3 separate regions of the Homo sapiens genome follow, and regions 1 and 3 are each linked to region 2. The links are contacts of gene promoters, found by promoter capture Hi-C in human tissues and cell types (Jung and others, 2019). All regions are on one chromosome and are shown on one strand. Each heading gives the region's core, a stretch centred on a gene start or on the middle of the fragment in contact. The rest is flanking DNA. Distances are from core to core; before and after follow the strand shown.

Evidence for each region. The method cuts DNA at HindIII sites, captures the fragments that hold promoters and counts their contacts. A contact is called where the count stands out against the background at its distance.
Region 1: a contact is called between a fragment that was not itself captured here and the fragment with the promoter of DOLK in region 2, in 1 of the 25 tissues and cell types used here (aorta).
Region 3: a fragment that was not itself captured here is called in contact with the fragment with the promoter of DOLK in region 2 in 2 of the 25 tissues and cell types used here (dorsolateral prefrontal cortex and heart right ventricle).

What each region holds. Positions count from the first base shown.
Region 1 is chr9:128,613,120-128,616,685 of GRCh38, forward strand. It overlaps SPTAN1 (spectrin alpha, non-erythrocytic 1), which reads left to right. Exons shown (of 57, transcript NM_001130438.3): 40 at 262-366; 41 at 2,513-2,721. Among named protein-coding and RNA genes, the nearest start is that of DYNC2I2, 42 kb to the right of the region's middle. The HindIII fragment of the contact is 6,237 bases long and covers 1-3,566 here.
Region 2 is chr9:128,945,750-128,949,156 of GRCh38, forward strand. DOLK (dolichol kinase) reads right to left here and starts at 1,854. Exons shown (of 1, transcript NM_014908.4): 1 at 1-1,854. The coding sequence starts at 1,554. NUP188 (nucleoporin 188) reads left to right here and starts at 1,950. Exons shown (of 44, transcript NM_015354.3): 1 at 1,950-2,002. The coding sequence starts at 1,971. RefSeq lists enhancers at 614-1,176, 1,177-1,738, 1,600-1,669, 1,739-2,300, 2,020-2,069. The HindIII fragment of the contact is 11,289 bases long and covers 1-3,407 here.
Region 3 is chr9:128,575,054-128,578,292 of GRCh38, forward strand. SPTAN1 (spectrin alpha, non-erythrocytic 1) reads left to right here. Exons shown (of 57, transcript NM_001130438.3): 5 at 146-292; 6 at 1,770-1,903; 7 at 2,076-2,220; 8 at 2,299-2,453; 9 at 3,057-3,192. Among named protein-coding and RNA genes, the nearest start is that of SPTAN1, 24 kb to the left of the region's middle. The HindIII fragment of the contact is 4,698 bases long and covers 1-3,239 here.

The DNA of each region.
Region 1 (3,566 bases), core at 184-2,683, 330 kb before region 2:
AGGATTGCTGTGCATTTTGCCTTAGCTGTAGTATTTACTATGAATAGACTCTGGAGTCTAGGTTTGACTGACCGAGTGGAGAGAGTGTCTCAGGCCGGGCAGGCTGATTGGGGTGGCTAGGAATCACAGTAACACATTGTGATGGAGAAGTATTCAACTGTCCAAGCAAGGCCCTGGAATAGCCACTGGGCAACCTGAATTTTCCAGAATGCTGAGTATACACCACACAGTAGCCTTTGCTTTTTGTGTTTTCATTGCCAGGTGGAGGCCCTGCTGGCATCCGAAGATTATGGCAAAGACCTAGCTTCTGTGAACAACCTGCTGAAAAAGCATCAACTGCTGGAAGCAGATATATCTGCCCATGAGGTAAGCAAAGGGAGGCGGGCCAGGCCCGAGTGCCTGGGACACAGCTCTGCCTGACTCCTAAGGAAAACAAGCGTGTTTGAGAAAAGAGAGTGACTTCTTTCACTTAAAGCAGCCATTCTCAAAGGTTGTGGCCTCAGGATCATTATACACTTGGCAGTTATTGAGGGCTCTTGAGAGATTTTTATTATGTAGGTTTTATCAATGCTCACCATTATTAAAAATTACATAAATTTTAAGGCCAGGTGCAGTGGCTTACGGCTGTAATCCCAGCACTTTGGGAGGCCCAGACAGGCAGATCTCCTGAGGTCAGGAGTTCGAGACCACTCCGGCCAACGTGGTGAGACCTCCGTCTCTACTAAAAATACAAAAATTAGCCGGGCGTGGTGGTGGCTGCCTGTAATCCCAGGTACTCAGGCGACTGAGGTAGGAGAATCACTTGAGCCCAGGAGGCGGAGGTTGCGGTAAGCCAAGATCGCGCCACGGCACTCCAGCCTAGGCAACAGAGCAAGACTCCATCTCAAAAAAAAAAAAAAATGCTGAATTCAGGTTGTGGTGTTTTGCATTGGATGAAAATTCAGTTTTACACAGGTAGGTAGGTAGAAAAGGGAGGAATATTTTGATTCGGGTAAGTGTGAATAATTTTCTTTGATACTATACCAAAGTCATAGTTTCTTAAAGCTTAGCTGTGGTCAGGTACAGTGGCTCACACCTGTAATCCCAGCACTTTGGGAGGCCGAGGCAGGCAGATCATGTGAGCCCAGGAGTTCAAGACCAGCCTGGGCAACATGATGAGACTCTGTCTGTACAAAAAAATACAAAAATTAGGCTGGGCATGGTGAGTCATGCCTGTAATCGTAGCACTTTGGGAGGCCGAGGCGGGTGGATCGCCTGAGCTCAGGAGTTCGAGACCAGCTTGGGTAACACAGTGAAACCCCGTTTCTACTGAAATACAAAAAATTAGCAGGGCGTGGCATGTGCCTATAAATCCCGGCTACTTGGGAGGCTGAGGCAGGAGAATTGCTTGAGCCCGGGAGGCAGAGGTTGCAGTGAGCCGAGATTGTGTAACTGTATTCCAGCCTGGGCGACAGAATGAGACTACGTCTCAAAAAAAAAACAAAAAAAAAACACAAAAATTAATTAGCCAAACGTTGGGGTATGCACCTATAGTCCCAGTTACTTGGAGGCCGAGGCGGGAGGTTCACTTGAGTCCAGGCAGGAGGTTGAGGCTGCAGTGTGTGTGTCATGATCACACCACCGCACTCTTGGATGACAGAGCAAGGAAAAAAAAGTTGTTGGGGGGTTAGTTGCAAAGTGGCCCCTGAAACCTTGTCAGTAAACTTTTTATACTGGATTATATTAAAACCCACTGGTCCATCTTGGGCTTTGAATGTAGCTCTTACCTGTGCATGATTTTGCAACATCATGCATGGCTCATTTGGTAAATATTGCTTCACTGAGTTATGCCTGTTCTATATGTTGACACATGTGATTATATGATATCAAAACATTGCAGTTAATACCACCACCAATTTCATTAGAAAAATCTTCACATATTAGGAAGCCTTCAGGCTCCTGGTGGTGGGTGTAAGTTTTCTAAAATTCTAACTTTCTCATAAAAGTTTGAATTTTATCATTAGTAACAAACTGTCAGTATTCTTTGAAGTGACAGGCTCACTTTATTTATTCTGGACCGAGTATCTGTGAGATACCAAGTCTGAATGAGCATAGTTTGTTCGGTGGTTGTTCTTTCAAGTACAAAAGAATGGCTACTCAGTAAAATTAACTTTCACTGCCTTTTTAAGGACATTTTTAAGTGAAACAGCATTTTTTTTTCACTGTGAGTGGGTGGCAGTGAAGAATCCACTTCTGCTAGTAGTTTGCCACTGCCTTGATTTGAGCTAAAGCACCAGCATGTCCCCTCCTCCATTGCTTTTGTACTATCAGTGCAAATGTCCACACGGTAAAAAATAATAATGTCTTATAATGTTATGAAAATAGTGTGAGTTGATAGAATGCCAGAGGTCCACATAACAGACTTTGAGAATATCAACACTCCACATCTCAGTAAGGAATTCCTGAGTTCTTATGTTCAAGCAGATAGCTGTGGGAGACCCAGTTTCTGACCCTCTTATGTCCCCTGCCCCAGGATCGCCTGAAGGACCTGAACAGCCAGGCAGACAGCCTGATGACCAGCAGTGCCTTCGACACCTCCCAAGTAAAGGACAAGAGGGACACCATCAACGGGCGCTTCCAGAAGATCAAGAGCATGGCGGCCTCCCGGCGAGCCAAGCTGAATGAATCCCATCGCCTGCACCAGTTCTTCCGGGACATGGATGACGAGGAGTCCTGGATCAAGTATGTCTTCTCAGCCCTCTAGAAGGCCCCTTACGCCTGTAATAGTGGGCAGCAGGAACCACAGGCTGACTGTTGAGTGGTGAGGCTGGAAACCCTGCTGGACTGGGATCCCAGCTTGGGCACACAGTCGTGGGATGCCTCAGTGTCTTCTGCTTTCCGGGTTTACAGTGATGATAATTGGCGGTGGTGGTGATCCATGCTGGCTACATAGGCCCTGTCTAGACCCTGCCTTTTAGATTCCCGTGAAAGTTAGTGAGTTTGTTTCTGAGCTTCTGGAGAAGATCACTTCTCCAAGGAAGGAGTTGCTTTTTTTCTTATTCTCTATCTGTCCCCGAAAATGTCAGTCTACTGATTCCAGTTGATGTGGCAGGTAAACAAACATTTTTTTTTCTGAGATGGAGTCTCGCTCTGTCACCAGGCTAGAATGCCACCATGCCTGGCTAATTTTTGTATTTTTAGTAGAGACAGGGTTTCACTATGTTGGCCAGGCTAGTCTCGAGCTGACCTCACCTGACCTCAAGTGATCCACCCACCTGGGCCTCCCAAAGTGCTGTGATCACAGGCATGAGCCACTGCGCCTGGTCGGAAGGCTTTAAGGAAGTAAGGAATTAAGAGAGAGGATTTTGTTCTTAAAAGACGTTTGTGGCCGGGCGCAGTGGCTCACGCCTGTGATCACAGTACTTTGGGAGGCTGAGGCGGGCAGATCACTTGAGGTCAGGAGTTCGAGACCAGCCTGGCCAACATGGTGAAACCCCGTCTCTACTAAATACACAAAAATTAGCCAGGTGTGGTAGCAGGCGCCTGTGGTCCCAGCTGCTTGTGAGGCTGAGGCAGGATAATCGCTT
Region 2 (3,407 bases), core at 604-3,103:
TGCTTCCAGGAGGGACACAGTGCTGATGGACCCCAAAATCCAAGCATAACTGTAGTTTAGGTCCACTCCACTGTCAAAGATTAAGATCAGAGCTACAGAAATGATCTGCGCAAATATAGATGTCATGGTCCCCTCAAAAGTCTTTTTGGTTCCAGGCCAGCGGATCTCCCCCATGGTGCTACCGAAGATGGAGGCCACAGTATCACCCACACCCACAGCCAGGACACCGGCATAGGGGACGAGGGCCCTGGCTCCTCCCAGGCTACCCTTCTGTGTGCAGGGTCTGGGGATCAGCCAGATGGGAAGAGACATGCCCAGGAGCAGGTAGATGTGTGTCAGAATGAGTGGTCCACTGTCTCGTTCATCCAGAAAAAGGGACAGGAAGCTCCGTAGAGTGTGACCCAAAGGCTTGATGCGGAAGTAGCGCACATACTCCAGGAAGATGAAGACCGCCAGGCATACAGTGGCGGCTACATAGAGCAGTGGCCGGTCAAAGATGATACCTGGGATGTAGGTGGCTACCACAATGAGGTGGAAATACTTTCGGGCGATGGTGGGGGCCTGGTGCTTCTTGGACTCGGAAGATGACCGCTTGGCATTCTGGTACAGCACCACCAGGCAGGCCAAGGTGGCCAGCAGAGACCAATAGGCTAGGAGGTAGATGCGGGTGTCTGTCTGGAAGAGAAACTGAAGAAGCCAGAGCAGGGGATTCCTGCGGATGAGCCGGTGCAGCCAGGGTAGGACCACACCAAGGCTCAGCACACAGGTCATGAGGTGGAAGAAGATGGAGGAGGCCCAGGTGCCTGAGTCCATGAAGACAAACAGAGTGCTGAAGAAAATGCCCATGAGTACCATCCCTACTACCACCACCAGCAGGAAGAAGTCCACTGGGTCCCCCTGACTTTCCACCAGTGTCAGAGAGCGCTTGATGAGCTGGTTGAGGACAAAGCTAATGCCACCCAATACCAGCAGTGCCTCACCAGGGGTGAAGCAGCGGGGCAGCAGGTACAGCAGGATCATGTTGAGATAAACGAAGATCAGAAGGACTTCCAGGACTTCGATCACCTCCCCCACGCTCAACGAGTGCTTCATGATATAAATGATAACACCTCCAGCCAAGCCCAAGATGACACAAGTGTTGGTTGGCACTGGGCGAGTGATGCCGAGCGCCAACACTGATGAGAAGAGGGCCACTGCCATGCCAGTGGCTGCCACCACAATGCCAAAACGCTCAAAGAACGGGTTCCCAGCAGTCTGGCACCGCTCCTTCATGACTAGTCCAAGCAAAGGCATGACCATGGAGGCGGGCAATAGGCCACTGTTTGCGGACATTCGGAACTGGAAGACGGCGCTTCCCTGCTGTAGCAGCCGGTCCCACTTGTATTGGACGTAGAAGGCCTGCACTGCGAGGGCCACGGCGCACCACGAGTATCGGTCCCATACGGTTGCGTGGATGCTCAGCACCACTGCAAACACTACTGCCGCCTCTGCCAGCACCGATCCACTCAGCGGAGCCCCAGGCCCCGGGGCCGGAGATGGGCACTCTCGGGTCATATCTCTAGACCTGGGGCTTCACGGAGGCCGGGGCGACTACGGACGCCCTAGACTTCGGGCCCCTCAGCCCCGTCAAGCAGAGGGAGGCACTTTCACCCGGCCAGCAACCTTCTCCCTCCGTTCTCCAGCAGCGAGGAGGGAACTCCACCGCAGGTCACTTCTGCGGCCTGGGAGCTGGCGCCCGGCCACCCCCCACAGCCTCCAACCTACGGCGTAGACGTCGCCACTCTGCAGCCTTCCTCACAGTTACAGCCGCCCCCGCTGCCGGCTCCTCACCTCTTTGGGCCTCGCCATCTTGGCACCGCCCCGCGGCAACGTCACGTGACGAAATCCCCGCCCACGCTCCGGGTCCGGGGGCGAGCGGTCACGTGGGCATGGCGTCTGGGGGCGGGGTTAGGGCGAGCGGGCGCGCGAAGATGGCGGCGGCCGCCGGCGGGCCGTGTGTGAGGTGCGGAGCGGGTCGAATGGACCGGGGTGGCTGTGAAGCGCGGTGTCAAAGCCGAGCGGAAGCGGGGCGGGAATTGGAGGCGGGATGTGGCGACAGTGGCAGGGCCAACCCCGGCTGGATGGACGGGCACCGAGACGGGAGGCGGTTACGTCCAAACGGTCCCCGCGCGCGGGGATCTGAAGAGTCTTCTTCAGGAGGGGGGCCGGCTCTTCACCCCTTCCCTCCGCGCTCGGCCTCCCATCTCCTCACCCAGGGCCCTTTGCCTTCCTCCTCTCTCACCTCCGACGCGTCTCTTGGCGCCCCACCCGCGCTTCCTTCTCCGGCCGTGACGCTCCCTCGAGCCACGGGGAGCTTTGCGGTCTCCTGGGGTACCCCCCACCCACGTCCCTGCTGCAGGCTCCCAGTGTCCTGCCCCGGCGTCGAGTGCGCCCTGCTGGCTCCCCGACCTCTCCCGCGATCTGTTCTTGTTAGGATTTTGTTTCGCGTTGAGCGGAGCCACGCTTGCGGCTTCTGTCCTCTCCGCGCCTCGTATCGTTCTTTTCTTGCACTGAATCAAGTCAGCCAGCATGTCCAAATCCTCCAAGAGATTTCAGGGATTGAACTAGGCTTTAGGGACAAGAAGATGAAATATTATATACGAAAACTACAATTCTGACAAAGTGCTTTCTAGCGTCAGACCCTGGTGGAGCGCTTCCCAGGAGTTATCTCATTCAATTCTCGCAACTCCGAGAGGCGCCTTCTATTTCACAGATGACTCAGAAGTCCGGCTCAGAGCTAGCCAAGTGATAAAGAGAGCCTTCAAGCTGAAGTCTGCGTACCTCCAGTGCTATAACCAGACCACCACGCCTCCTTCTGTCTTCCACATTGCAGCTCGAAGGTCTTCGTTCTTCCCACCACCCTCCCTCAAAGTTAAACATCCCCGTCTCTTATCCTTCCCTGTGCCAGCAGTGTTTTCCCCACTTTTTTTTTTTTTTTTTTTTTTTTTTTTTTTTGAGACGGAGTCTCGCTCTGTCGCCCAGGCTGGAGTGCAATGGCACGATCTCGGCTCACTGCAAGCTCTGTCTCCCGGGTTCATGCCATTCTCCTGCCTCAGCCTCCCAAGTAGCTGGGGATACAGGCACCCGCCACAACGCCTGGCTAATTTTTTGTATTTTCAGTAGAGACAGGGTTTCACTGTGTTAGCCAGGATGGTCTCGATCTTCTGACCTCATGATCCGCCCGCCTCGACCTCCCAAAGTGCTGGGATTACAGGCATGAGCCACCGTGCCCGGCCCTAACAATATTATTATATAACAAGATTACTTTCCAAAAATTTAACAAATCGTTTTGTATATTGAGATTTTTTGCTTTTAGAGAGCAGACAAAATGGCTATGAGGCAGTGTACAAGTTTGTATGATCAGAAAG
Region 3 (3,239 bases), core at 78-2,577, 370 kb before region 2:
GGAACTAAAATCACAAACCACAGACAAAACTGTATCCATTAAAGCTAACATGGCTCCGTCCCTAATGTGTCTGTTTGATGTTTCTGGAAGCCATTGTTAACAAATGTTGGTTGGTGACTCTGGCTCTCTTATGGTCCCTGAATAGGAAGCAATTGTTACTTCTGAAGAGCTGGGCCAGGATCTGGAGCATGTAGAGGTTTTACAGAAGAAATTTGAAGAGTTTCAAACAGATATGGCTGCTCATGAAGAAAGAGTTAATGAAGTGAACCAGTTTGCTGCCAAACTCATACAGGTAAATAGCAAAGTGCTGTATGCTTCTCACAACATTATTATGTTAACTTTTTAGTATATTCAGGATAAAATTTTGATGATTGGTCCCCTAATTTCTGAGTGAGCAAGTTTTTGTAAGCATGTCTGAGAGTTTTGTTTAGATGTGAGGCACAATACTGATTACTCCTAAATTGGAAAATGCTTTTCAATGTGTTGCCTTGGGCAGGAAGGGCAGAGTTCATTTGATCTGTTTCCTCTACCCACTTTTGGGTAGGGCTGGGTGAAGCTTTTATTGGACTGCTGAAGCTAGGTCTCAGGGTTTCTCAGACGAGGGTGTGGTGGTGAATGCTAAGTTAGTATTGGCAGATGTCCACCAATGCATTAGGGCTCTTGCCTTCCTTTTTTATTTGAAGCTTCCCTGGGCTCTCTTGGGAGCCTGGGAGAACCTTGTCGTGAATAGGCTCTCCACTCTGGCGCTGGAGCCCATTAAGAGGGAATGACAACCCTTCCCCAGTGCCCACGTGTACAATCCTGTAAGCTGCTTCCACTACGAGTCCAAAGGGTTCCAAAGACATCAAGTACTCGGAACCAGAGAGTTTTTACTTTTAGGGAAATTTGATTTGGGGGGTACAAATTTTAAGTGTATAAATCTGCTTATAGGCTGGTACTTGTTTCCATTTTCTGGCCAGTGATTAAGAGAAAGATACCCGGCATTCCTCAGAAATATCTCACCCTTCCACAGTGACAGATGTGTTGCTTTTCCAAACCCTAAGCTTTCCTGCGGTTGAGCTTGAGAAAAGTAGTCAGGCCAAACCCATGGTATCCCAGATGGATTCAAGAACCCTGAAATGCTTCATTTTATTACTTTGTATCATATTTTTTAAAACACCAAAATGTGGTTGGTAGGGAAGGATACTTTTAAAGAAATGTCTCTAAGCTTGATGCAGTGGCACCTGCCTATAGACCCAGCTACTCTACTCAGACTCAGGCTGACAAGACAGGATCACTTGAGACCAGCCTGGGTAACATAGCAAGACCCTGTCTCAAAAAAGAAAAAAAGAAATGTCGTCAGTCTAAAGCCAGGGACAAACTCTTGAGCCCCGAAAATTATGTTTATGTGCAAGAATGCTTAACAGCCTCATGAACATCTGAAATACCAAATTTTCAAGCAGTTAGGGTAGATGAGTACATTGATAAAGTTACCACACAGTTGTTGCCAAACTATTTATTAACATAAAGGTTTTTGGCACTTTTGCACATAACCACCTTATAGACTAACCACACTACTCCAAAAGATAGAGAATGGCTCTCCCCTTTTTACATAAGAAATAGAAACTCTTTGGAGTTGTAGTTCACTTTGTATCATGTTGACCATTATTTCTTGTGATTCTCTTCAGAGTGGTGATTTGCTGAGATGCTTCAAGGAACCAACCCCAGGGTAACTAGTTGGAGGAGCCAGAAGTTGTGTACAAATCCAGTCTCTTCTCTTCCTTGTTTAGGAGCAGCACCCTGAGGAGGAACTGATCAAGACTAAGCAGGATGAAGTCAATGCAGCCTGGCAGCGGCTGAAGGGCCTGGCTCTGCAGAGGCAGGGGAAGCTCTTTGGGGCAGCAGAAGTTCAGCGCTTTAACAGGTGTCAAGCCAGAGTGGGCTTTGGGGAATGGGTCTCAACCTGGAGGGGAGTTGTGAAGCACAGGGCATGTGCTGGTGAGCTGTCGAGGCTGACTAGGCCTTGGTCCCATGGGGTGTTCCTAGTTCTAGGGAGTCATCATTGCTGTGGATTAACTGGTGCCTTTGTTCTGTAGGGATGTGGATGAGACTATCAGTTGGATTAAGGAAAAGGAGCAGTTAATGGCCTCTGATGATTTTGGCCGAGACCTGGCAAGTGTTCAGGCTCTGCTTCGGAAGCACGAGGGTCTGGAGAGAGATCTTGCTGCTCTAGAAGACAAGGTGGGTTTTACAAGCAGCTGATTCTGTAAATAAGTTACCAAGGGTCAGGAGAATAGTTCTGACGGAGTTCATTTCTAGGTCAAAGCCCTGTGTGCTGAGGCTGACCGCCTGCAACAGTCCCACCCTCTGAGTGCAACACAGATTCAAGTGAAGCGAGAGGAACTGATTACAAACTGGGAGCAGATCCGCACCTTGGCGGCAGAGAGACATGCACGGCTCAATGATTCATACAGGTGCAAATAATGCTCCAGGTCTTAACCAGTATCATTTGGCTTCTTTTTTGGAAGCAGGAATAGCAGAGTTAAGGGTCTGTTCTGTGTTCTGTGAAAGTGTCAGGTATCACCTACAAATGCAAATCACTTCTTACCTATGTTCTCTCTGTTTGGAGACTGGCAACTGTATCATGTGTAGTATACGTATGGTATTTACAACTTCATAAATTCTTCTATTCTGCATCACTGCATTATGATTGATAGAATGGGAATGTCCCTTTAAGTATCTGAGTATCACATGAAATATCTTATTAAAACCAGGATTAGAAAGGAAAAGAATCCTTGCTAGCCAAGGGTTGAACCTGGGAATAACAAGGAAGTTGAAAATGTGGGACAGGATTGGGGCATTATAGTGATGGAGAGAACCTAAGTTTTAAAGGGTTGATTTCAGCCTTCTCTTGCTTTCCTTCACAGTCTAGATTGGGAAATTTTCATATTTCCCAGAATTAGAATTTATATAGTTTGTTAGACATTTGAGAACATAGAATTCAGAGCTTTAGGGAGGCCATTTTCCACCCTGGAACCTCCGCTGGAAACATAATGTCTTCCTTTGGTTTTCCCTAGGCTTCAACGCTTCCTTGCTGACTTCCGTGACCTCACCAGCTGGGTGACTGAGATGAAAGCCCTCATCAATGCAGATGAGCTTGCCAGTGATGTGGCTGGGGCTGAAGCCCTGCTAGATAGACACCAAGAGCACAAGGTAATGGTATCTCTAGAATCTTCCAGAAGTGAAGATTTTAGCTTATA